Linked DNA regions of Homo sapiens: all the other regions are linked to region 2. Evidence: promoter capture Hi-C in human tissues and cell types (Jung and others, 2019). All regions are on one chromosome and are shown on one strand. The core of a region is centred on a gene start or on the middle of the fragment in contact, and the rest is flanking DNA. Distances in the headings are between cores, read along the strand shown.

What was found. Contacts are between HindIII fragments. The study calls those that stand out against the background at their distance.
Region 1: a contact is called between a fragment that was not itself captured here and the fragment with the promoter of PFDN4 in region 2, in 1 of the 25 tissues and cell types used here (heart left ventricle).
Region 3: a contact is called between a fragment that was not itself captured here and the fragment with the promoter of PFDN4 in region 2, in 1 of the 25 tissues and cell types used here (lymphoblastoid cells).
Region 4: a fragment that was not itself captured here is called in contact with the fragment with the promoter of PFDN4 in region 2 in 1 of the 25 tissues and cell types used here (lymphoblastoid cells).

What each region holds. Positions count from the first base shown.
Region 1 is chr20:55,653,019-55,660,246 of GRCh38, reverse strand. No RefSeq gene overlaps it. Among named protein-coding and RNA genes, the nearest start is that of LINC01441, 230 kb to the right of the region's middle. The HindIII fragment of the contact is 3,943 bases long and covers 2,380-6,322 here.
Region 2 is chr20:54,206,768-54,213,367 of GRCh38, reverse strand. It overlaps PFDN4 (prefoldin subunit 4), which reads right to left and starts at 5,281. Exons shown (of 4, transcript NM_002623.4): 1 at 5,244-5,281. The coding sequence starts at 5,267. It overlaps LOC124904937 (a long non-coding RNA gene), which reads left to right and starts at 5,327. Exons shown (of 2, transcript XR_007067669.1): 1 at 5,327-5,411; 2 at 6,312-6,422. RefSeq lists enhancers at 4,250-5,066, 5,207-5,526, 5,067-5,884 and a silencer at 4,947-5,216. The HindIII fragment of the contact is 11,424 bases long and covers 1-6,600 here.
Region 3 is chr20:53,202,829-53,209,894 of GRCh38, reverse strand. All of the region lies in intron 1 of TSHZ2 (teashirt zinc finger homeobox 2), which reads right to left. Among named protein-coding and RNA genes, the nearest start is that of TSHZ2, 230 kb to the right of the region's middle. The HindIII fragment of the contact is 5,589 bases long and covers 2,365-7,066 here.
Region 4 is chr20:53,085,714-53,092,538 of GRCh38, reverse strand. All of the region lies in intron 1 of TSHZ2 (teashirt zinc finger homeobox 2), which reads right to left. Among named protein-coding and RNA genes, the nearest start is that of TSHZ2, 120 kb to the right of the region's middle. RefSeq lists a silencer at 3,597-3,823. The HindIII fragment of the contact is 4,369 bases long and covers 973-5,341 here.

The DNA.
Region 1 (7,228 bases), core at 3,102-5,601, 1.4 Mb before region 2:
CCATGCATGGAATTCATTTAATTTAACAGCACAATAAACATTTATAAAAACATTAATATTTGATTACAAAGTTATATTGTTATTGTAATGTCATTTCTTTTCAAAATATATTGGCTTTATCATCTCCTGGAATTACCATTTTGAGAAAAAAAAGTAAATTTCCTGCATATGTTCTAATACAGAAGGCAGGTATCAGTCATACTTAAAGTTTTAGTGATAAAGTTAAAAAAAAAAGAAAAACCTATCATTACTTAGAGCTTCAGAACAGTTAATGTACTTTTATATCAACAGAATGTGCATCAATTCAGTTAAACGTTGATTTCAGTCATTGAATTCAAGTCAGTCAAGCCAGTTGCTTGTATAGCCTGAAGTGATTTTAAGTGACTTGACTAATAAACTCTACCAACTTCTATATTGTAGCTTTAATGAATTTTGAAAATGATGTTTAAAATAAAATGCTTTACATTATATTTTATCCATTTATAATATATTTGCTTTCCACATATGTTAAAAGATGTGCCATAATTAATCAGAATTATTGGGAAAGTAGTCTTTCCCAAGGAAATATCTACTTAGTTCAAGACTCACCAGCAAAGATTTTTTTTGTTTCAAATTATATTGTGAAAAGATTCTTCCAATTCATTCATTTACTCAAAAAAATTCCTGTTAAGCATACGTTATGTTCCAGGCACTGGTTCGGGCACTTAGGATACACTGGGAAGTAAAAGAGGCAACAGTCCCTGTCCTGGGGAAGCTGCCACTTTCCAGAGAAAGACAATAAACATAAGAAATCAGTAAATTATATATATTTTTAGAAGGTGATATGTACTAGGTCAAAAAAACCATTAGGCATGGTTAATGGGAATCAGCCATGCTGAGGGTGTATAAATGATGATTGCCACATGGAATATCGTCACCAGGGTAAGCCTCATTGAGATGGTGCCATTTGAGTGAAGTTCTTTAGGAGGTGAAGAGGCAAGCTCTGTGGGTGGATATCTAGGGGAAGAAGGTTGTAGCAAAGGGAAAGGCAAGGCCAAGACCATCAAGTAGATATGTGCAAGGATTCAGTGTGAATAGGCATGTTTTCTTGCATATAATAGACAACATGAAGCTGCGGTTTAATGACCAAGAGTTCTAGAAGGCTTCAAGACAATTTTAAAAAGAATGTCCAGGCTACATATTTGAAAGATCAAAGAGGTGGGTTTGAATTTACACTGACTCTGACAGATATCCTGTTGGCCCATCTTATAAATAAATAACCTAATACTATTTTGTCATATATTATATATATATACAGTCTAAGGATAAAATTATGTGGTAAATTTATTCTAGATAGTCAGATTCTGGTTCTGTTTTAAACTGCTGAGTATGATTAGTTGGATTCTTGTAAACTGAGATTTTACTGCATTATAATGTTTAGAATGTGCTTTTCAAGACCTATTTTCCTAAAAATGATTCTATAGGATTATTGGTGAAACTAAAAATAAATTGCAATCACATTTTGCCTTGACCATTCTGTAGAATCTAAGCCAGTTAATCCAACAAAATTTAGTTTTTAGCTAACACTTATGTTTTAATCATTTAAAGTATAATTATTATGAGTACCTACTATATACTTAGCACATACTGAAAATTTTAAGGAATCCTTAAAATAATTTGACACAACTTTTGCCCTCAAGGTGACTAGACTGGCATTTGTGAAATAAAAATGGAGCAAAATGACATCTTTAAAAGAGTAGAGCGTGAACAAATGCTGTCAACATTTATAGGAGGGAGATGATTGAAAAATATATCTTGGCAGAGAAGCTTCTTGGAAGAGAGACAAGTTGAACTGGATATGAAATTAATTGGGAGGTTGCATTATATTCATTACACTCATCTACTTTCGTATAAATTAGTGGGCCAGAGACTGTGGTAGCCAGCCTTCAAGATGGTCCCCAGCAATCTCTGCTTCCTGGTAGTCACACCCTTCTGTAGTACCTTTCCACATTGTACCAGGGTTGGTGTGTGTGACCAATAGAATACAATGGAAATGATGGTGTGTCACTTGTGAGATGAGGTTATAAAGGCCACTATAGCTTTTCTCTCCTCCACCTCTCAATGTCTCTCTCTGATTGCTGGTTCAAGCTAACAGTCACATGTGTGAACCACCTTGAAAGCTGAACCTCCAGCCTCAGTCAAGCCTTCAGATGATTCCAGCTCTGGTCATCAAATGGACTGCGATCTCAGGCAGGATCTCATGCCAGAGCTACCCAGCTAGGCTTCTCCTGAATAACTGATCCCCTCAAACTGCATGATTTAAATGGCTTTTTGTTTTGTTTTGTACTAAGTTTGGGATAGTTTTTTTACATAGCCATAGATAACTAATATTGGAGCAAGTAGCGCTTTGACTGTAACAGTTGTATCTGGCTATAAAACAAAACTGTTCAGAAACATTGGATTCTCCTCCTCCTATACCTCTTAAGGCACAAGAAGAATTTAAGTAGTAACAAGAGAGACACTCTTTTGGCTGCTAAGATGTGTAGTGAAGCAAACACAATTGCAGTCCACCTAAGCCAGGATGATAGTTAACATCTGTGGGAAACTCTTTTAAAACAATGCAGATAATTGAGCAAAACTGAAGCCCATTCAAGGCTCTTGAAGTTCCCATATACATTTCCAGATCAACACCACCAATAAAGCAGTAACACCTCAATAATAACTACCATTTATTTAAAAGGTAGTATGTGCTAGGCACTTCATGCAATACTATACAAATAATACACTATCTTATTTCATCTTCCAATACTTCTATGAAGTAAGTGCTAGTGCTGTCACTATATATGTGAATGAGGCAAATAAGATTTAGTGCAGTGTCTCTCAAACTGAAATGAGATTAAGAATCATCTAGGGGGCTTATTTACAATGCAGAACAAAATGTAGCAGATCTGAGATTTTGGGATTTTTAACAAGCTTCTGAATCCTGCCGATGCTGCTGGTCGAAGAACCAGATTTTTGAGAAGTGAGTGGTTCGAGGTTATACAATTTGCCCGGAGTTCAAAATAGTAACCATTTATTGAGGGTCAGCCTTGTTCCAGTACCTTATATATATTTCTCTTCTAAATCTCTGTGAAAATGGAGATGTTATTGTCTCCACTTTGTGAATTATAAAACTGAGGGTCACAGAGAATAAAAATATTTTAAAATAAATTTAAAATAATTTTCCCAAAGGTAACAGTCATTTAATAAGTAAGTAAACTTGAATCCAAGTCTTTATAACTGCAAATCTCACATTTTTCTACCATGTCACATATAGGAAAAACAATTGAGTACCAAGAAAGATGTTTGTTGAGAAAAATAGACATAATGTAAAAATAATAGTAATAACGATAAAGTCAGGATGATACTTAGGCTCAAACATACTTCTACACAGCAATGATGCCTCAAAGACTTACTTTGATCAAATATTTTGGCGATTGCCTTTCCCTGTTCTTATTTCTAGGTATTATGGGATTTAGAGTGGGATGGGGGATGGGCATCAAGAATTTTCCTCAAAATTACAAACAAAAACAAAAAAAACCCCAAACTGATCATTTGCATGGGGAATGCCAGCTGGGGAGAAGGGAACATATGCTTATATTCAGGAAAAGTTTCACAGGATGTAAAAAGAAACCATCTGCTTTTTCTTTTTGTTCTTGTTTAAGAACAGCTTGTGTTTGCAACTCACAACTTAAAACATGGTAATAACCTACAGGACTTTGTGAAGCATGAACTGTACCAGTTTTTTTTTTTTTTTTTCTCATTTTTCCTGCTTATTTTTTTCACTTGATGTTTGCAGAAAGCAGACTGCAAAGAAGATATTTGCATGTTGCAACTTGGATAATAAAATTCTTCTGATCGCAGCCTGAGTCTGCTTCTTTTGGGTTTTCTGGGCACTCCAGGATCCTGCAATGAAATCCAGCCAATGTGAATCAAACGTAATTCTCAGCTTAGCTATAAGAAACACCTCAGGCTAAGACTGTGCCTCGGTGCACCTCCTGCTCAACCTGTGCAGAAAAGCACTTCTGTGACCCTGCTTTATCTGCACAGCACCTGGTAGGGACTTGGAAATTGTTTTTGAAGGAAGAAAAAAGCAGTTTCATATGTTTACTCTTCTCATTAGCATTCATCTCTGTGGCTTTGATGTGTGCCTTCTTTCACTGCTGAAGTTTTCTTAATGTTTCAGACATCACCACTTCTTAAGTGCCAACTAGTACATACATCTACCATTCCTAAGAGATGGAAGGCAACACTTCCCAGTGGAAAGTGCCTTAATGACCTTATTGGGTAAGCAATTAAACACTGCAAACAATGAGTAAGATGAACTAGACTGGGTGAGAATCTTGGCTCCTCCACTTACCAGTTCTATGGCCTCAGGGAAGTTACTAAACGCTTCTCGATCTCAGTATTCTCATCTGCACTGAGGGAATAATAATAATACCCACCTGGGATCTTTATGAAGGTTCAGCAAGTTTATGAGAAAGTGCTCAGTCAAGGTAGTATCTTTGAGCACAGCAAGCTCTTGTGGGATAAACCAAGACATGTGGGAGGAAATTTCCTAAATTTAATAACAACATGTTTTCCTGCAAAGTAAAACACCCTGCATATACATACACAGTGATGTTATGTACATAAATGTATAAATATATGCATATCTTCTCTGGATATATGTACACATATGTATATATGTATATATGTACACATGTATATATGTATATATGTGTATATATGTATATGTGTGTGTATATATATATATTAGACATACAATTTATTAAACGCTTCTCAAATGGGAATTGTAAAGTCTGCCCCTGAGTTTCTCAGCATTTGCCCTACTGACGTTTAGGTCTAGATTAATCTTTATCCAGGGGGCGTCCTGTGCATTGGAGGATGTTTTGCAACAACTCTGGCCTCTTACCCATTCAATGCCAACTGTATATTCTTTCCATTTTGATAACCAAAAGTGTCTCCAGATAGTGTCAAATGTCCCTTGGAAGTTAAATTAGCCTTGGTTACTGCCAATCTAATTGATACTGCCCATCTTTAAAATCTCCAGGATTTTTTTTTTTTTGAGATGGAGTTTTGCCCTTGTCACCCGGGTTGGCATGCAGTGGCGCGATCTCAGCTCGCTGCAACCTCCGCCTTCCAGGTTCAAGTGATTCTCCTGCCTCAGCCTCCTCAGTAGCTGGGATTACATGTGCCCACCACTATGTCCAGATACTTCTTGTGTATTTAGTAGACACAGGGTTTCACCATGTTGGCCAGGTTGGTTTCGAACTCCTGACCTCAGGTGATCCACCTGCTTCAGCCTCCCGAAGTGCTGGGATTATAGGCATGAGCCACACCTGGCCAGGATCTGTTATTCTGAGTTTTGATGAGAAGAACCCAAAGAATACACAGGTATGTTCAGATATGACACTGGAAAAAATGTCTGCTTTTCTGATTTCTACATAAGCTTCAAGGAACAAATTCAAACTTCACTCTTCATATATATGACCAGTAATGCAGATGTGCTAAGTTTATTAGAAAGGAATCATTGCAAACTCATTAAGCAGTCAATTTTCTGTCTCTTTGTATGAACCTCCTTTGAATTAAGATATTATCTTCTTAATAGGTGGTGGACAGAATAGCTCAAAAGTGTACACCAGACTAGTGGATTGTCTTTAGAATTGGAAAATTACAGAAAAAAACAAGGATTAACATTATTTTTGGAGCGATTTTAAAATATTTAATGTTTTAATATTGCATGTTGGAGGTGGCAGCAAAGTTTTTATCAGTTTGTAGATATCAGTGCAATATTCATTAGCTTTTCTAAAGGTTATTTTAAAATTAATTATCTTACGTATTTCTTGTCTTCTGCTAGCTTTTCCATTTGTTTGCTCTTGCTTCTCTAGTTCTTTTAATTGTGATGTTAGGGTGTCGATTTTAGATCTTTTCTGCTTTCTCTTGTGGGCAGTTAGTGCTATAAACTTCCCTTTAGACACTGCTTTAAATGTGTCTCCGAGATTCTGGTATGTGGTGTCTTTGTTCTCATTGGTTTCAAAGAACTTATTTATTTCTGCCTTCATTTCGTTGTTTACCCAGTAGTCATTCAGGAGCAGGTTGTTCAGTTTCCATGTAGTTACGCGGTTTTGAGGGAGTTTCTTAATCCTGAGTTCTAATTTGATTGCACTGTTGTCATAGTGGCACGTGAAAAAAAAAAAATATCAAGCTCCCATTAAGTTTTTTTTTTTTAGTCACTTCTATTTATGTCTTTCTAAGTAGTGTAACTAGTGGACTTTTCTGTCAATGCAAAGTTTTATTTTATTTTGTTAATATGCAAATGAGTCATGTTATACAATGTGAATAATAAACACAGTTGTGGTCAAAATATTATGGTATTATCATACTTTGACTTAATCTCTCAGTTTCAGAAACAGTCATGATAGACGAAATGTCAAGCAAGAAATACCAACAGAGACATAGCTAGGCTTGGAAACAGAATGAACATCTCATGCTGAGCTCCTGGTCTGGATGCAGGCAGCCCTGGCTGGGAGGACAGTGCCTGCAGGTAATCAGGTTAAAAATATGAAGGTAGGAAAACAGAGGCATGCTTATGGCTTAGAGGACAGAGTTGGGATGGGACTGCTCTGTAAACCCACTAGAAGAAACTCTGCAGATTGTTGCCAGGCTTATGATTTCAGAAAGCTGAAGACCTAGGGAAATATGAGACTGCAGTCTTAGCCTTGAAACCAAGTCTCAAATGAAATCACCCGATTCAGTGGCTGGATATGGGGTGTCCTCTTTGTCTCTACAAAATTGGAATCTCAAATTGCCATTAAAAGGCCAATGCCAGATAGGAGACTCAGAGGGCTGGTGGAGGCATAAACAAAAGTAGTGTGTGTATGTGTGTGTACATGTGTGTGATCACCAAGGGAAAGTGAAAAATAAGTAATTCATTCCACTCAAAGTTTTCGTATGTATGTGCAGTAAGTGCAGATGTGCTATGTTAGAATGGTTTGTGAATAAAGCACAGGAAATTAATGCCAAGGAGGCTGCAAAATAAGCAATTAGAACCATTAGACCAACCCATCTGGAAAAACTTAACCTAAGACAACAACTATTCTTTGAATGTGGACACGTGTCAGGCACTGTTCAGGATGCCTTGCGCAGATGAAGCTTTTTGTCTTAGGTATGTTTAAGAAACTCAAAGACTTATCTGCGGAAACTGTGT
Region 2 (6,600 bases), core at 4,032-6,531:
ATGTCTGCTTTCATCAGATTCTCAAGGAGGTACCATATATTTTTAAAAAATAAAGCTAAAACATAAAACCAGACTCTCCTTAGGGTTTCCCTTCCATTTATAAAATGAAAACCAGAGCACCTGATTCTAGTTTAAAGAAGAAAAGATATTTGTGTGTGTATAAAAATAGTTCATACTGAAACACTACTTTTGGCTCTTTTGCAGTAACAGTAATGAGCTCACAACATTCACACTCCATCCCTGACCTGGTCTCTCATGACCATCGACTTAAGGTATGTGAACTTTTATTTCTCAGAGGTTGAAAGGCAGTGTCAAGCAATACAGAGCTCAGTGGTCGGAATATAACACAGTCCTCCCCTTTGTTAGGCTCTCATTCCAAGAAACAATTTCACATGCATTATGCCCCACCTCAACAACCCAGAAGATAGCCTGAAAAAATCCTTTACATCACACTATGTCTAGCTTTGAGTGTTCAACCGTATGCATAATTTTGATGAATATGGAAGTTGGGGAACACTGAGCTACGCTCAAGAAACCAAAGTCTATATCTTGGCACACAAGTCATTTTGCCTAAGTGAGAACTGTCAATTCCCTACGCAAATAGACAGCAGAGAATTCTGAAGAGTTCCTGTTTGCCTGAAGAGTATATGCCATTTTGTTTAAATATTGAACCCCCAACAGGCATTTATAGATGTATTTGTCTTGGTGAGGGCTCAACAGAGCCATTCACATGAACGGATCCAGTGCAGGACTGCCTGGCACATAACTAAGGCTAATACATGGTTTCTGAATTTGAATCTAAATCATGCTTGATCAGACTCAAACACATAGTTTCCAAAATGTGGTAGAGAGAATTTGGCTATCTGCTTTCTGTCTTTCCAAAGCAGGAATTTCCTGTTGTAGCCCCACCAAACCACAGGCATCAGCACACATGTGGCCCCTGGTATCCAGATCTTTACAGTGGTTTTCCCACTGGGGTTAAGGGCTAAAGTTGATGTGTGAGTCAAATATACTGCATGCCGCCCAGTGGAGTGCCATTTACAGCAGACAGTAAGATGTCAGTGCCTTTGATGGCTAACAGAGGCTTCTGTTTTAGTCTCACTGTCCTAGAACATTCCTACATTTCTTGAAGCTGCATTTTGGCAAGAAGTGGGTAATTTTTTTTTTTTTTTGGTGAGACAGAGTCTCACTCTGTCGCCCAGGCTGAAGTGCAGTAGCATGATCTTGGCTCACTGCAACCTCCACTTCCCGGGTTCAAGCCATTCTCCTGCCTCAGCCTCCCAAGTAGCTGAGATTACATGCACATGCCACCATGTCCGGCTAATTTTCGTATTTTTAGTAGAGAAGGGGTTTCACCATGTTGGCCAGGCTGGTCTTGAACTCCTAACCTCAGGTGATCCACCAGCCTCGGCCTCCCAAAGTGCTGGGATTACAGGCTTGAGCCACCACGCCCAGCCAGAAGTGGGTAATTCTTAACTGGGGGGTGGGGGTGGTCAATGGACATTGACAGGTCGATATACCCAGAGACTGTATGCAAAATGGCATGTATAGTATGTGCATCCTTCTGGAAGGTCTTCATAGCTTTCACCAGATTCTCAAAGGGATCCACAACCCCAAAAGGTTAGGAACTCCTGCCTTCAGGGAAACCAGCTGTAGCTACTCTCAAAGTCAGAAGAACTCTAGGAAGAACTCATATCCTATAGTATCTGAGGCAGCACACAGAGTGGTGGGAAGAGTCAGGCTGCAATCCAATCCAAGCAAACAGGAACCTTGGGCAAATTACCCAATTCTTTGGAACCACCTCAGGTTTCTCATCTGTAAAATGGAGAGGCTAGTTCCTACCTTATAGGGTTGATAAAATGAACATGTAGGAGAAAGCCTGATGATGGAGTCAGTCAAATGATAGCTAAGCATTTTACATCCTGAATATTGTTTATCAAAAATCATTACAAAGAACAGATCCAGATCTAGAAAGAAATTCTGCTAGGCCAAAGAGAAATATGCCTGCTCGGGATCCAAAGTAAAAATTAAAATTCCCTGGGCTCTTTTCTTGAGAACTAATATCTTACGGGATTAGAGGAGGAAACTGAACCATACTCAGTCATGCCTCACACCAAGTCTAGGTATTACACGGAGTCTGCACTGACAGCTGGGTCCCTAGAAATAAATTCTGGCCAATTTCAGTCTTTTATTTTTACTTTTAAAAACATATCTACCAAGTCTGTATGATGTAAACTTTTGCTTTGTATTTGTATTCAACCTTCTTTGTTTGTTTTTTTGTTTTTGAGACGAGTCTTGCTCTATCGCCAGGCTGGAGTGCAGTGGTGTGATCTTGGCTCACTGCGACCTCTGCCTCCCAGGTTCAAGCGATTCTCGTGCCTCAGCCTCCCGAGTAGCTGGGATTATAGGCAAACGCCATCATGCCCAGCTAATTTTTGTATTCAACTTTCATCCATGCAGTAGTTTATTTAACAATTACTGTTTCCTATACGCCATGCACTGTGACAAGAGAGCCACTATCCCACTTTCATGAATACAAATGGCAAGCATACATCCTGGTGGAGGAAGAGAGCAAAAAACAAGATGAACAAGATAATGTTCAATGGTGACAAACGTGATGATGAAAATAAAACAGCTTAGGAGTAGAAAGTTTTGGGGGCCTGGGGAGTGAAGGAGGCTTCTTTAGATAAAGGTCAAAGGTAGCCTCTCTGAGGAAAGGACATTTGTATATAGGATAATGAACAGAAATCAAAGTGCAGATCTCCTTATGGTCAAGAACTGGATCTTAGAAGGCAGAACTCTAGAGAGGAGAGGACTGAATCATCTCATCTAAACACTCTCCCCAGCAAAGTCATGACCAGTTGAGAGATACGATGTGTTACAAACGTAAAGTACTCCAGATTGTACGATTTGCTTTTAATTAAACTCAAAGGGCTATCTCTCTCTGTTTCACTCTCACTCACTGGCATACACATATGTTTTCTCCTAGTGAGGGCAAAGGGGAAAAGTGTACATGCAAGCTAATCTATCGGGAATTGTTCCTAACACTGGAAACATCTACAGGAGGACACTGCATCTATCATGTGACTCTTAAAGCCTCCAAAGTTAAAGAAGCTCCTTTATATTTTGGCCACCACCTACCCCTCTATAAGTTCTTTTCCCATCATGGCTCAAACTCTCTTCCCCTGATTATCTGCCATCGGGCCTTCCTTGTATTAAATGCACTCAGAGTCTCTGCAGATACTCCTCTCTAGAATGCTTCGCTCCCTATCCAACTCTCCCTTCCTTTCCTTACATAATCTCACAGATCTCAACTTAAATGGCACTTTCCCAGGAAAGTCTTCTCTGATCTCAAAACAGACCTCATTTTGGCCCTCATTTCATAAGCACTTTTCCTTCACAGTTCTCATCAGAGAAACTAGTTTTCTGTCTGACTATCTGAGTAATGCCTGCTCTGCCCTGGAACATACGTTCTTTGGGGCTATGAGATTAAGGGGAGAAGAGCTTTCTCACTGGTCACCACAGTTGTCTCCACTTAAAACTGAGACTACGCCATATTACGTGCCCCCGAAAATTTACTGAATCAATGAAAGGAAAAAAAAAGTTGGTAATTAGAAATTTTGCAATCAAAATCCAAGGTTCAAATCATTCTTCTGCCATTTCCTCTTCTACCATTTACTTCACCTCTCTGCACTTCAGTTTCCATACCTATAAAACGGAGTGAACCACAACTAGTATCTTCCAAGGAATTAAAGGCCATACCTAACACCAGAGGGCCCAATTTAACAAACTAGAGGTGAAGTGAATCTCACAAAGTTTCATACTTTTTTGAATCACCATGGCCCTAGACCCTACTCTGGGACACAGTAAGAATTTTTGGATGGCAGAATAGTAGGGTGAGCAACACATCCTGAGTTGGCTGGGGCTTTCCCATTTTTGGCAGTCCCTCAATTTCATATAAAAGGGGGCAATGGGTCACCCTACACCAGGCACAGATGGCATAGACTATGTGGTACTGGATAGGGGCAAAGCAAAGAAGTTCTAATGTGGTCTTAAAAGTGGAATGAACGCAAATCCCTCCAGCCAAGAGATTCTCATCAAAGACCCCCTATAGCAGTTTAAAACACAGACTCCGGAGTCAGAATGCCTGTGTTTAAATGCTAGCTTTGCCTCCGCGCCTGTTTTCTCATTGTTAAATAAGGATAAAAACAGTATCTCCCTCAAAGAACATAAAATAAACAATACACGCAAAACAACTTACAGCTGTACCTAGCACACTGTAAAGCTCCCCAAATTATCAGCCGTTATCTCCTTCCCCCTCTCCAATTTTCTTTTTCTTCTATCTGACTATCTTTACACATCTGGGAAGGCTCACGGGATTAAAAACCCCACATGGAAGTTTAGCCGGCTTAGTGGTTACACAGGCGTGCTTTGAGAAAAACAAAAACAAACCTGAGTTTGAACTCCAGCTCTGCTTCTTACTAGCTGAGTCACTTTAGGGCCTCTAACTGCTCTGTGTCTAAGTTTCTCTACCTGCAAAGTGGAGAGGAACCCATTGCACTTGCTGAGTTGCGGGGAGGATAACAGATAAACGGCCGGCTGCTGGGCCCGGCACATCTTCCATTCTCAATAAATACTGGTTTTAGCCTGAAGGACTCAGGGGCATCAAGCGTGGAAATGGGCAGCTCCAGGTTGGACACAGGGTCTCTGGGGCCTGCTAATCTGGGGATGCAGGAACCTGCTGTCCCCGTTATGAGCTGCGTAACCTCGGGCAGGTGACTCCCCATCTCTGGGCCTCAGTTTCCTCACCCGTAACCACGCTCCCAGCAGCAGCTACCCATAACCAGTGAGGCTAATGCGATCATGCCGGTGCAACGCCCGAGTCAAGGCCAACCACACTCAACGGGACCTTCGGCTTCCCACACCTCAGGGGCGAGGCCGGGGCTGCAGGTTCCTCAGACTCCCCGGGGGCACCCTCGGCATCGCGGGAGGCGGACCTGCGTCCTTCGAGGCTCCCGGCCCCAGCCCCGGCGCCCCGCCTCGGCTGGCCAGGTGCCTAGGAAAACGCTCAGGGCGCCAGGCGCGAGCAGGCCTTGCCGCGGGACCGCTCTCAGGGCCTCGGCCTCGGCCTCGGGTCCCACGCCGGGCTTCGGAGCTGCGCACCCCCAGCATCCCGCGCCCGGGCCCCAGCGGCCGAGATCCGGCGCCGCCCGAGCATCCAGAGCCCCGAGCTCCCCACTCACCGCCTTCTTCATGGTGGCCGCCATCTTGGGACTGGACTACCGCAGGCGGCGGGGAGGGCCGCAATGGCGCGCTTCGCCCCCGAGCGTTCTCTCGCTCCCGGTCGGCCTAGAACTCCCCGCAAAAATACAACACTGTCTCCACATTCCGTCCTCTTGGACTTTTGGCCAGTGAGTCCAAACGGCTGGGACGTAGGGAGGAAATGTGACCTGGAAGGACTTGGTACATGCCAATTAAAGGGACAGGCAACCCCCGTGGACCGACATAAACACGGGGGTGTGGCGAACGGCTCCGGCCGCGGGCAGCAGGGGGCGCGCCCAAGGCTCAGCGCGGCGGGGCCCAGCTGGGGCAGGATCAAAGGGCTCGGGGAATTTTTCTCCATCCGTCCCACAGACTTGCATTGAGAAAGCTAACCTACCTGTAAAACAGCTAGGAACGAATGGCCTTGGCAAATAGGGTGTGAGATTTATGTGCCATGATAATTCAGGTGGTGTAAAGGAGGTACTCCTATCTTTTAATGTAATTTTTTTTTAATTTAAATTCGGGGGGTATGTGTGCCGGTTTATTACATGGATATACTGCATGGTGCTAAGGTTTGGGTTTCTAATGATCCCGTTGCCCAAGTAGTGAACATAGTACCCCACAGGTAATTTTTCAACCCCTTTCCCCTGCCTCCTTCCCCGTTTTTGGAATCCGTAGCATTTATTGTTCCCACCTTTATGTCCACGAGTACCCAGTGTTTAGCTGTCACTCATAAGTGGGAACATGAGTGGTTGGTTTTCTGTTTCTGTGTTAATTCACTTAGGATAATGATGTCCAGCTGCATCCATGTTGCTGCAAAGGACATGATTTTGTTCTTTTTTATGGCTGCATAGTATTCCATGGTGTATATGGACCACATTTTCTTTATCCTATCCACCACTGATGGGCATCTGGGTTGATTCCATGCCTTTGCTGTTGTGACTAGGCAATCCTATTAATTAATTTACAGCAATATTACTGAACAATTACTGTATATTCTGACACTTGTGTCTCCCAATTAGTAATTTTTTTTTTTTTTTTTGCCTTAGGACCTCTTTATACTCCTGGAAATTACTGAGGACTCCAAAGAACTTTTGTTTATGTGGGTTATTTATCGATATTTGCTGTATTAGAAATTAAAGCAGAATTTTTAAAATGTATTTATTAATTCATTTAAAATAATATAAAACTCCATTCCATGGTAATAAAAATCACACTTTAAAAATAACTATATTTTCTAAGACAAAAATAAATTGAGAAGATTGTCATCATTTTACATTTTCACTGATCTCTTTAATATCAGGCTTAATGGAAGGTTACATTCTCATGTCTACTTCT
Region 3 (7,066 bases), core at 3,910-6,409, 1.0 Mb after region 2:
ATCTGTCGTCTTCTCTGTGCCATCCCGGTGAGAGCCTGCTGTGCAACAGGGTCCATGCGTTCAAAGCCATTGTTCAGTTTTCACATCTGCAGGTTCCACGTATGCACTGTTCTTCAAGCTTTCCCAGAAGCACAAGGGGAAGTGTTAGGAGGCCCATTTCAGTTCAGCTCGGCTCCAAACCAGCTTCTCCCCAAGCAAAGCAGCTGATTCCATTCTGACTCAGGCATTCACTTTTTGATTGATTTGGAAGTAGAATGGGAGGGCTCTCTGATTAGCACTCTTAAAACCTCAGCAGGGTAGGGCCACCTGTCAGTATCTTTTTTACGGCTAGATAGTATTGATATATCCTAATTCATTTAACTAGACCTCTAATGATGGGCGTTTAAATGCCTTTCATGATTTCATTGCCCCAAACAGCTCTGATAAAATGGGCCAGCCCATGAGTCCCTCTGCACTGCACAGTAGAGTACTGGGAGGAGAACTGGGTGTTAAATTATATGTGCATTTTGGCAGCGCACAGTGGCTCATGCCTGTAATCCCAGCACTTTGGGAGGCTGAGGCAGGTGGATTACCTGAGGTCAGGAGTTCGAGACAGCCTGACCAACATGGTGAAACCCCATCTCTACTAAAAATACAAAAATTAGCCAGGCATGGTTGCGCATGCCTGTAATCCCAGCTACTCAGGAGGCTGAGTCAGGAGAATCACTTGAACCTTGGAGACGGAGATTGCAGTGATGGCACCACTGCATTCTAGCCTGGGTGACAGAGTGAGACTCCATCTCCGAAAAAAAAAATGTGCATATTTGCATTTTAAATACAGCCGTCATGGTTGTTTTGGAAATGTCTTTTTCACATGCAAAGAAGCTGATTTTATGCCAAGTCAAAATGGGTAGGTGGAACAAGTGAAAGGTGTGTCCTGGTAGAGGCAAAGCTCTTAGGAAAGAGTAAGCAATGCATACTTGGAAACCTAGAGGCTCTCTGGGATCAGCTGCAGAGCAGTAAGGGGGCCCAGAGACGCCCAGAGCTGTCTGCTGAGCAGCACCACCTACTGTGTTTCTGGCATAAGGAAATAAAACAAACACACCTTTGTGGTAGCACTGCACAGTGGTTACAGGGCGTGGGGGTGAGGTTCTAGAATTTACCACTTTCTAGCTGTATGACCTTCAAAGAGTTAGTTAACTGCTCTGAGCTCATTTTCTCGACTGTAAAATGAGGAGAACAGCAATTCCAACCTACAGGATTGTTGGCGACCTTAAATGAGAAAGTCCAAGTGCACTGCTTTGACACACAGACCGCCTCACACCTGGTAAGCGATCCGTACGTGTTGGGAGTCATTATCAAGTCAAGCAGGATGTGGGTGGGAAATGTGCTCTCGGAGGGTTTGATGCAAGTTACAATACTTGGGGAGTGCTTGATTTCCAGCTTCCTCATTCACAAATCAGGGTTACACCTCTTACTACAAAGAACTGATCCAGGATTAAATGAGAAACAAGAGCTGATGCCTGGCACAGGGCAGGCAACAGTAGCTGTGAGCTCCCTGTCTTCTCCATTTCTGTATCTACCAAAGGGAGGAACAGTCCAGGGTGAGGAACAGCCAGCCTGTGTGATCCCTGCTCACTAGCGCCACCAGTGGGTTTGTGAAGAGAAAAGACATTAGGGTGGTCTTCATCTTGATTTAAGGTTGCATTTATTTATTTATTACTTATGCTAGAGGCTTACATTCTCCAAAGAAATTGGTCTTAGGGCGAATGCGATTTACCATCAGCTAAAGGGGAAATGGTGGTAGAACTGTCATGCCAACAAGGTCAAAGATATTTGCATCTATGTTGTTTTATTGATTTTTTGACTTGATTCTCCAGTGAAGAGTAATAATAGCAATTAGTAGAACTACAGGAGGCTGGACATGGTGGCTCCTGCCTGTCATCCCAGCACTTTGGGAGGCAGAGGCAGGGGGATTGCTTGAAACCAGGAGTTTGAGACCAGCCTGGACAACATAGGAAGACCTCATTTATCAAAAAAAAAAAAAAAAAAAAAAAGTAAAACAATGTATCTGGGCACGATGGTGCATGCCTGTAGCCCTAACTATTATACTAGGGAAGTTAGGATAGGAAGATTGCTTGAGCCCAGGAGCCCAGGGCTGCAGTAAGCTATGACAGTGCCACTGCACTCCAGCCTGGGCAGGAGGGCAAGACCCCATCTCTAAAATAAATAAAAAAATAAAATAAAAAAGAAGAGCTGCAGCCCCAAATCTGTGATCTGGAAAGGTTTTCAGAGTCTAAGTTATAAAAGTGGGATTTAGGGTGCTCATCTCTAAAGATGTGGCTGTGGACAAAACTGGGGTCAGATAGGCCTCTGCAGCCATGTCCCTACAAGTGAGAGCCAGGGTAGGGGCAAGATGGGCAGCTGAGGGCATCTCCTCTCTACTGACCTCCTGCTTCTGGGGCCTTATTGCTGCTTCTTGCCACCAAACTTCAGGGCTTCAGAACACACCTGATTGGAGAGGGAACCTGTCACTCCTGCCTGATTTTTAACTACAGCAAAATAAGATGTTAAGTGCCCCCCACCCCTGAAAAAAACAACAACTCCCCTCTGTGATTTCTCTGATCTCATTATTGGTGCTCGTGGATTTCTCAGCCCTCAGCCCTCCAATTTCCCTCTCTTCCTTCTCACTGCCTTTACTAGGGCAGCAGCCAGTGGTTGTGGCATGCTTGAATTTCAAACAGGGCAGGCTGAAACAGGAACAACTGTATGTTTATTAGGGCATCATTATCCCTCTGAACTGCATCATTTATATCCCTGGGAAGAGACCACGCCAGGTCAGGAGCAACAGTTTGAGTCGATAATTTGTCAGGTTGAGCAGGTGGTAAGGGGTGGCATAAGAAATCACCTGAAAGGCACCGCAAACTGAAATGGATGGAGGTGGAAGAGTAATAAGAAAGTGATCAGTGAATCCACAAACAAGCACAGATAAATCAAACAGCACCAGGTGGATGGGAGCAAAATAGGAGAGATTCAAATTAGCAAGACTTGAACCTTATCAAGGGAAGGTTAGGAATTCACCCTCAGTCACCGTTACCCACCAGGGCTGGAGAAATGCCCACAAGAAAATGAATCTTTCCAGGGCAGGGAGCTGGAGTGGAAGAGATTTCCTAGAGAGTATCAATTTGGATTATAAAAATCCCAAGGTCTCGTGCTCTGACAGTGTGAAAGGTAGAAAAATGGACCAGACTTCTTGCAACTGCCACTACCCGTGGAGTGCTTGATACTCTTCAAATGTTTTTACATTCACAGAGGGTATACAGTGTTCAAAAAAGCAAGGGGATGAAAGACCCAGATGCAAAGCCTTGAAGAGGTAAGTGTTTCGGCCAAATACCCATGACCTTGGTGGCTCATAGATGAAATCTTTTCCCTTCTCTATTTGTTTTAACCCTTTGACCAAGTTTAGTCCTGAGTGTTAGAGTCAGAAAAGTAAAAGCAAGGGCTGAGGAACAAAAATCATTATCCTCATCATCGTGTTTATTATTTAGTAATAATGGCTACTGTACTCGGGGGCCTGTTTTGTGCCAGGGACTGTGCTGGCACATTTAGACCCTAACCTCTTTTAATCCTCACAGCAATCATATGTGGTGACTGCTATGTGTGTCTTTATTTATTATTATTTTTTATTTAATTTTTTTGAGACGGCGTCTGGCTCTGCCGTCAGGCTGGAGTGCAGCGGTGCAATGTTGGCTCACTGCAACCTCTGACTCCCAGGTTCAAACGATTCTCCTGCCTCAGCCTCCTGAGTAGCTGGGATTACAGGCTCGTGCCACCACACCTGGCTAATTTTTGTATTTTTAGTAGAGACGGGGTTTCACCACTTTGGTAAGGCTGGTCTCAAACTCCTGACCTCGTGATCCACCCGCCTTGGCCTCTCAAAGTGCTAGGATTACAGGTGTGAGCCACCGTGCCCGGCCCATATGTCTTTATTTTTCAGATAAGGGAACTAAGCCTTAAAGAATGTAAATGGCTTCACCAGGCTCACAGCTCATAAGTTATAGCATCACGATCAGTGCTCAGGATTATCTGAACCTAAAGCTCACACTGCACTGATCACCATGCCTTCTACAAGTGTTACTGAATATTTTTTAGAAGCAGATGAAGGCATTGAGAGGGAGCAGGAGGAGTATTCATTCCCAGGGACCCTCCAATTCCCAAACACACCCATGAGTCTATTCCATAAAAATTGTGGACAAGTATCAGGTTCAGGTAAATATGCTCGGATCTCATGTCTAGGAAAAACCTGTAGGTAAAGGCCTAACCCTGCAAAATGGACAGTGCGGCTGCATATTCACAAAAGAAGGAAGATGTAGATCTTTTTATACGAGTTTTAAAAAGACCCAGGATAGTTTTCTTAACATTTGGAACTTCCTTTGTGCATATCAAATGTGTTTCAAGTCACAAATAGTTGGTTTCAGCTCAATGCAGAAAGAATATGTACATTTTGCACAGAGTAAAGTACACCTGTTTGGAAATATTTTCTGTCTTCTGAATTTAAATGAAGCATTGCCCACAAGTTCAAAGTTGGAGAGATACCATAATTTCTGGGCTGAAATGCATGCTATTTTAAGCTTAGGCGCATGTTGGAAGCCAGCCACCAACTCTCCTCAGATTTGTCCAAATTCTCTGTGTTTTTCTTGCTTAGCACAGTGGTTAATTGCTCGGGCTTTATTATCTGAAAACCTGTAGACAAATCCAGAATTGAATCGCTCACGTGATAACTGTGTGACTCTTAGCAAGTTTCTTAGGTTTTTTTTTTTTTTTTGAGATGGAGTCTCCCTCTGTTGCCCAGACTGGAGTGCAGTGGCGAGATCTCTGCTCACTGCAACCTCTGCCTCCCGGGTTCAAGTGATTCTCCTGCCTCAGCCTCCTGAGTAGCTGGGACTACAGGTGCACACATGGCGCCGGCTAATTTTTTTTTTCTTTTTTTGTATTTTTAGTAGAGACAGGGTTTCAGCATGTTGGTCAGGCTAGTCTTGAACTCCTGACCTCATGATCCGCCCGCCTCGGCCTCCCAAAGTGCTGGGATTACAGGCGTGAGCCACCGCACCCGGCCACAAGTTACTTAGCTTTCTAATACTCAATGTTCACATCTATAAAATGGGGACCATAGTAAGATTATAGCTTCAAAGAGTTATTCTGAGTATGAAATAAAAGAAAGCACAAAAAACTTCATACAGTGATGCATGGTAGGAACCCGGTAAATGGTGTCTGTGATTATTATTATGTCTCTGTTTTTGTTGCAAGTGATCAGATACTGAAGGCTTCAAGCAGCGCTGCCCAATAGAAGTAGAATGTCAGCTATGCATGGAATTTCATATGCTTCAGTAGTCACATTAAAGAATGAGAAAGAAATAAGTGAAATTGATTTATATAACTATATCTTATTTAACCTAGTATGTCCAAAATATTATATCATATTATGATATAATAGTATCATATCATCATGTTATATGATGATATAGTATCATATCATCATGTTATATGATGATATAGTATCATATCATCATGTTATATGATGATATAGTATCATATCATCATGTTATATGATGATATAGTATCATATCATCATGTTATATGATGATATAGTATCATATCATCATATGATGATATAGTATCATATCATCATATGATGATATAGTATCATATCATCATATGATGATATAGTATCATATCATCATATGATGATATAGTATCATATCATCATATGATGATATAGTATATCATATCATCATATGATGATATAGTATATCATATCATCATATGATGATATAAATAGTATCATATAATATGATATAATAGTATATTATAAAATTATGATATAATAGTATCATATTATAAAAATGAAGGAGATATTGTGCACTACGGTTTTTGGACTAAGCCTTTCAAGTTCAGTGTGTTTTATACTTACAGTATATTTTAATTTGGACCAGTCACATTTGAAGGGCTTAGTAGCCCCATGTGGTATGTGGGACATACCGCTTGAACATTGCAGGTCTAGAGAGCTTGGGATCAAGTTCCCAAGGCAGAGTTTATAACCCAGTTTCAGTTTTTAGGTGGGTTTGGTTTGGGACATGCAGTTTTAAAACAAACGAATTACCAAGACCTAAAAAATCAGGAGATTTCGCATAAAAATTTATTTTCCTGGTTTCTCTTGGTAAAGCCTATGTCTGGCGATGAGACCACACTCCACCTGGCACCCTTGGCTGGAGATGAGTCTGCCCTCCTAGGGGAGGCAGTGTGGATGCTGGAGAATCTGCCTGCCATCCCACCCACTTCTTAGCCTCTCATGTCTCATTTATCACCATCTTTCTCATTTCCCACACCAGCCTGGCCCCTGTAGACCTATGAGTTTGAGACCCCCATGCCAAATCAATGAACCCTCAAAACAGAACTTAAAATTTGGGTGGAGGTGGGCACATCACTTGGGGTCAGGAGTTTGAGATCAGCCTGGCCAATATGGTGAAACCCCATCTCTACTAAAAATACAAAAATTAGCCAGGTATGGTGGTGGGTGCCTATAATCCCTGCTACTCAGGAAGCTGAGGCAGGAGAATTGTTTGAACCTAGGAGGCAGACGTTGCAGTGAGCCGAGATCGTGCCACTGCACTCCAGCCTGGGCAACAGAGTGAGACTCCGTCTCAAAAAAAAAAAAAAAAAAAAATTTGAGTCTGCTCAGACCCAGTTCTCTGCCTTGCACCTGTGAACTTCATTTGTCCTCTCAGCTTAAAGGTGAGTTGTGCCCATAGATTCATCTGAGGGAGCAGCTAAAGTTATATAAGGAGAGCTACAGCTCTGAATCTGACAATGATTCATATCGAGAAGGATGGAAAAGACTAAACAGCTCATATTGTGTCCCTTGATCTGCCTACGTATGATTCATCGCTAATGGCTTTGTACATAGCCATGGTAGCCAAGAGAGAAAGGCAGAGTGAATAGAGGGAGTGGCTGATCCCTCTCCTGAAACAGAAAAGCACCCCTGCCTCTCCCTCCCCAAGGCTGGAAGTATTACAAGTTATAGCATACA
Region 4 (6,825 bases), core at 1,908-4,407, 1.1 Mb after region 2:
TATTGTTTCCTTTTCCCATGGCTAACATTTATCCCACAAGTAATGCCGTGTTTGTTAGGTGGTCTTGAGGGAAAAATATACTAGCAACCCACACAGCTTCTTTGTCAAACAGAACACAGTCAACGGGTAATATGAGAAGACTCAAGTTGACTGATAAAACATCATCTGGTGGCTAGTGTTAAGACGGAGAATGAATCCTGGCATTGAATTCTGGCTGAAGCTTCAGTCGACACTTGACTCAGTTTACACATTAAAAAAGGGATGTGACAACACAGAATGGTAACTAGGTTGGTTTCCAATTCTACTAAGGTCTCTCGTATAGGGCTATAAAGTATAGGATTGGAACTGATGTCAATTCTAATTGATGGGAGCGGTCACACAAGGAAACGATATTGTGAGTGTGATGCTTGCTGTCACATGCTGTGTCAGTAGTTTCTTCCAAAACCCTCCTCTGGGAAACAAACAAAAGCATCGGTTTTGTTGTTATATTTTTGAGACAGGGCCTTGCTTTGTCACCCAGGTTGTAATACAGTGGTGCAATCATGGCTCACTGCAACCTTGAACTCCTGGGCTCCAGCAATCCACCCTTGTCAGCCTCTCTAGTAGCTGGTACAACAGGCGGGTACCACCATGTCTAGCTAATTTATTTTTATTTTTAGTAGAGACAGGCTCTTGTTATGTTGCCCAGGCTAGTCTTGAACTTCTGGGTTCTAGTGATCCTCCAATCTCTCTGCCTCCCAAAGTACTGGGATTACAGGCGTGAGCCACTGAGGCTGACCAGAAGCACGGGTTTTTAGCACACTCTCTGAATTTCTGAAGTACACTATAATGGAGTGCTTTCTCTACATTAAGTATAAATGCTGCATTGGCATCAACAGTGCCTCATTTCCTTTTGGACAGGAAGTCGTGATACTTTTGCATCTTCAAAAATCTAAGGTAAGGGAATAAATGGATCTACCAAGAAATAGTATGGCTTTGCATATAAAATACAATCATATTGCAAATTTTAATGAGCAAAATCAGAATATAAATGAAGGATTTAAGTAGTAGGTAAATCTTACAAATTATTTAAGCTATATTTTCAGCAAAGCAACTTGAATCTGTAGCTTTGCTGGAAGCTCAGCAGGCAACCCACATCCAGTGAAAACCGGGAGCGGCATACAAACCTAGAGAAGTGGCTGATGACTACACAATCCCTTTCAAGGGACTGTGTTTTATAATGCTCAGCATAGATGTACTTCTTTCACCAATGTTGCCGTTATAGAACTATCTCCTGCACTACTATCCAGGCTTTACATAAACTCACTTCTTAAGTAAATGAATTTGAACAGTGTATTTTCTATCACAACTGACATTGGCAATCTAGCGATAATAGCTACAAAATTACCAAATTGATGTGGTCCTCATTTTACACAAGTATTACACCTTAAAATAAATACATTACAATTAAATTGTTAGGAAGTTTATCTGTGTACCACTTAAAATGCCACTGTGTGCTATCAGAGTTTCACCCATCCTCCAAAACACACTCCTGAGGGAATATAAACATTCATACATGTAAACATTTTATCTGATATGGTAAGTATTTTATTATTTGAATTAAATATTAAATGGTATCAAGTCTGTATGCGTGTTTTGTTATATGGAAACATGACATATTGGAAACAAAACAGCAAACGAAAAGGGGAGTAAAATTGAAGAAAGAATCCACACAGGCTTGAAGCTTAGGAGTGTGCACACACAGCATTAGTGACTTATTACCTCAAACCAGAGGCTCGATGAAGCCTTTGTTTATTCTGCAAATCCACAGCAAAATAATTGCTGTGAGTTATCTTAAGATGCTGAGGAAGCCACCTCAAAGCACACCTGGGCTTGTGGGCTCGGAGACCCTTGCAAGCAAGCTGCTGTCAGCTGCTCCATTTTGGCAGACGGGGAAATGGTGCACCTCAGTCTTACAGAGGTGCACTCCATTCCAAACCCAGCCAAAGTTCATGTCTGAATTCTGCTGCTTAAAATCTTTCAATTGGAAGGAACTCCTCACTCTGTCTCATGGCTTTCAAATTCCAGCAAACCTATTCCCCCATGGCTTCATGCCCTGACTCTCTCCACCCTATTCTCAACCCCAGTCAGAATGGTCTCCTTCGTATTTGTGACAGTTAATATTGAGTGTCGATTTGATTGAATTGAAGGACGCCAAGTATTGTTTCTGGGGGTGTCTGTGAGGGTGTTGACAAAGGAGATTAACATTGGAGTCAGTGGTGTGGGAGAGGCAGACCCACCCTCAGTCTGGGTGGGCACCATCTAGTCAGCTGCCAGCACAGCTACAATAAAGCAGGCAGGAGAAGATGGAAAGAGCAGATTTGCTGAGTCCTCTGGCCTTCATCTTTCTCCTGTGCTGGATGCTTCCTGCTCTCAAACATCAGACTCCAAGTTCTTCAGCTTTTGGACTCTTAGACTTACAACACTTGTTTGCCAGGGGCTCTTGGGCCTTCGGCCACAAACTGAAGACTGCACTGTCAGCTTCCCTACTTTTGAGGTTTAGGGATTTGGACTGATTTCTTTGCTCCTCAGCTTGCAGATGGCCTATTGTGGGACTTCACCTTGCAATTGTGAGTCAATTCTCCTAATAAACTCCTCTTGATATATACATCTATCCTATTAGTTCTGTCCCTCTGGAGAACCCTGATTAACACAGGATTCTTGGGCGCTCCCCAGGCCTTCCTCAGTAGGGTCTGGGCACTTGCTATTTCCTTTGACTGAAAGGTTCTTTTCTTGTTCTTCATGTAGACAGTTTATTCTCACCCTTTGAGACTTATCTAAAATGTCACCCTATCAGGGAGTTCTCTTATAGCCACGTATCTTATGATCTAGCTTTTTAATCTTCATAGCTATTATTACTGTGTGAAAAATCATATTTATGTGATTAAATGGTTAATGTCAGTCCCTCCAAAGGGGCTGTGATTTTTCTCAAGGGCAAATCTTTTCTCAGTCACTATGTTATCCCAAATGCCAAGTACAGTGCCTGGCATGTAATAGATACTTCATAAAGTTTTTGTTGAATAAATAAATGGACTTACGAAGACCAGCTTTCCAAATCTTGGAAAAATCCCTACTTATCTCTTTCTATTACGGTGCAAAATGTACATTCCCTTTACAACTTCTTTGCCAGCCTGGAAGTTGGAAAAACTCTGTTTAATAAAAAAAAAAAAAAAAAAAAAGAAAATCCCATTCCTGTACCTGTCACTGCTGGGTTAAACAAGTTCACTTAAGATTTTTTTCTCTGTGTGGGCTTTCCTCAGGCCCTATAGATGTGCCACGTATGTTTTATGAGCTAACATTTATTTTCGACACTTTGGCCTATTGGACATGATCTCGTAAGCCTGAACTCTCAGCTGACATGCTGTTGAACATAATGGGGAGATTTAAAAAGGTATCACCAAGGAGTAGAGAGGATTGCGGAGCGCCAGGGGCGAGGAGGAGGTGGTTGAGATGAGCCACGGAAAGCTTTCACACTGTTCTCCCTGGCAGTCAAGGAGCCGTTGCTATGATGTGCAGTCTCAGCACGTGCATCCTGAGCCAGCCGAAGAATGCAGAACAACCTAATTGCTATCCTTGGAACTCAGTGCTCCCAATAAACTTGAAAGCTGAATAGCAACATTTCACAAACAGAGCTGCAGCCTCCTAGCTAGGTGAGCGGCAGTGGAGTCTCTGCATTGCTGTGTGGTACTCTGGATGGAATCCACAGGTCTCGGAAATGCCAAAGCACTCTCTTTCTCAGACAGAGTGAGCCTTCAATTAATTACAAAAACTAGACATTGAAAATATGCCATATGTCAATCCATAGTGGAATTCATATGGGGGAAAGGGAAGTTTTAAAGGTTTCTGAAAGCCATCAAATCTCCATTTAGATAGAATTCTTCAAAAAAATATGAATTTAGTTATTCATTTGCACGGGGTAAATTTTTCAATTTAGCGGAACAAAGGCAACTACAACTTGGCATTTAAAAACTTGGGAGAGTTGACAACAGCAGGACGGAGGGCCAACGCTGAGATCCTCAATTCCATTCAAATCACATAATCAGTTAATGCCAATTTGTTGCTAGTGCTTTAAAGTCAGAAACAAACAGGGCCCTTAAAGGATTTCCCTCCATAGTACCCAACAAAATTACTCATTGCAATTTCCTGTATGATAATTTTTTAAAATGTCTGTCTAACTCCAGTAGACTATAAATTCCATGAGAGCAGAATTGTGTACATTCTGTTCACTTTTGAGTTCCCAGAGTTGAATCCAGTGCTTCATATATAGTAAGTTCCCAACAAAAACTTACTAAATGAATCAAATTAAGCCCCAGTGCTGGACCTCAAGAAGCTCTCTGTTCAGTAGGAAACAGGTAAGAAAACAAAAGGATTTCAGCAATAGGTGATGAGTCCCAGAGCAGAACTATGCCCAGGATACTTATGGGACAACAGAGCAGGAAGCTGAATTCATCTTGAAGACAGACATGGGGTAATAGAATGCTTCCAAGAGGGGGCAAAGCTTAAGTCAATTTTAAAAAATAATGCCAGGTAGAGAGAACTGCTTGGGAAAAGGTTGGAGGAGAGAGTTATTTAGTTTCTCTCCCTGGAGCATTAGTCCAAAAATCACCAAGGTGGCCAATTACCAATATGGCAGATACAAAGTCTCTGGTCAAGCCAAATGCCAAAAGAATTTACCTGTCCTTGGATTTAATCCAACTAGAAGAAGCAGAGGTACTACACAGCCAACACGTACCATCATTTAAGTCCCTGCCAATGGCCGAATCAATAGACATACTACTTTTCTCTAAATAGCCTGAAGACACCACTAAAATACACAAGCAAATCAAAAAAGAAAGTCTTTTCCAAGAGTTTTACCAAGAACTGTAAGACCTTGCCAGTCTGTTTCTGATCCTTCTTTTAACAGACACAAATCAGAAGCATGATTATGAGTAACGCTGTGCACCCAGTGAAGAGGAAGAGACACCCACGAGGCAATTAAAACTTTGGTCCATGGTCTTTCAAAAGTGAAGACTGGGGGCTTGCATCAAGAAGTCTGAGTTCTCATGAGCCGACTGTCAGAGCTAAAACATCAGAACTTTGGGCCAAGGATCGAAAATGTGTAATGCATAAATGTCTGTAGAAACTGCCAAGGGATTTGTGTGAGCTGACCAACTGTGCAAACAATTATCTGTGTTTAGAAAGCTCTACAGTAACGGAAACGTGAAGATTTGGCCTTTGGAGTTGAAGAATCTCCTGGAAATATCCCTTGGAGTAACTACTTGTTTACTTGGAAAAGCATCTGATCCTGGGCAAAAAAATTTCCCTTTTTTGGTTGACCTCAATTCTTCTCTCCATTCATGACAGGCTGTTGCTCAAGAAAGGGCAAAAGGTCTAGCCATGTGAGAATCTGGTATTATGAATTCTCCTCCTTCAGATCATCACATGGCTTGTTTTCTCACTTCCTATGAGTCTACTCATAGGTTCCTTTCTCCGCAGAGCCATGCTTGGCCATCCTATCTAGCATGAAACCCTCCACCCCATCCCCTGACTCTTCCTCTACCATCTTCTTGGCTTTGTTTTCTCCTTAGCATTTCACGTCTAACATGCCAGCTAGCTAATATATTCATTTTTTATTTTCCTTCTCCCTTACCTGAATTCTTAGGCAAGAACATTTGATTGGTTCATTGCTATATCCCCAGCTCCTGGAAGGAGAACTGGCATTAAAAGATAAGTCTTAAATGCAGACACTCCTTATGGTGCATGCCATCTCAGCAACCACAGAACTGTGCAAAGGGAAGACACGGTTTCAGGACACGAGTTCCAGTTAACAGAGGCAAATTGAGGTGGCCTATAAATAATTGTTAGGATGAACAGAGCTGTCCATACTTCTATTTTATGGTTAAGGCCACCAGGGAGAGGTTGTTATTTGCCCTATATACATCATTCCTGACAGGAGGTTTCTCCAACAATCACCTTCCAAAGAACCAATGTGGTAGACACACTTGGGGATGATCTATTCAAGCCATACCTTCCCTTCCACAAGAACTACTTGCTCCTCAAGCCCTAACAGACTCCACCTCAATCAGAGACAAATGGACTGAAAGTAGGCTACCCACAGAGAGCCAAGCTTTTGGTAGAGATTAGCCCAAAAATCTGAATGGAGATATGGCGATCTTGAGAGAAGGAAAGTCTGAAGGAAGGTGCAAAACACATATACCTTTTGGTTCATAAAGATACCTGGCTCTACCCTCTCCGACATCCCACTCAACCCCACCTTTGCATCAATTCCCTGGTCTATGCCAGCGCCCTCCTTAGACATTTTTGTTGTTACTGTTTAGTTGTTATTGCTTAGTTTCCTTTGAAGAGAGTTATTCTTCCTTACAACTAAAGAAACCTTGATTGAGATGCACAGTGGGCAGCTGGCACCCACCCCACCACTACTGAGCTACCAAGAGACCAGAAGACACGGCCTCCATGCAAAGAGATTGGTGCAGATGGAGAAGTCAGGATGAGGAACAGCTGGAGACCATGCCACATGCACAATAACCCTAGGCCTTGAGAGGCACAGGTGAGGTTGAGCGCAGCTGGAGAGGAGAACTTTGAGAAGCCCTCATGAAGGTCTGCCTGGCTTGTGGTTTAATGCTTACGCCTGAACGCCACCACTGAGCCCTGCGTGGGATTACTTCAGGGGGAATTTGAGGAAGTTGAACTCAGTAATGGGCATGACTTTGCAGCTAGGCACCTTTCTGGCCCTGAATCCTGGGGGCATAGTGTTTAAGATCATGAGGTCTAGACCACCTGGGTTTA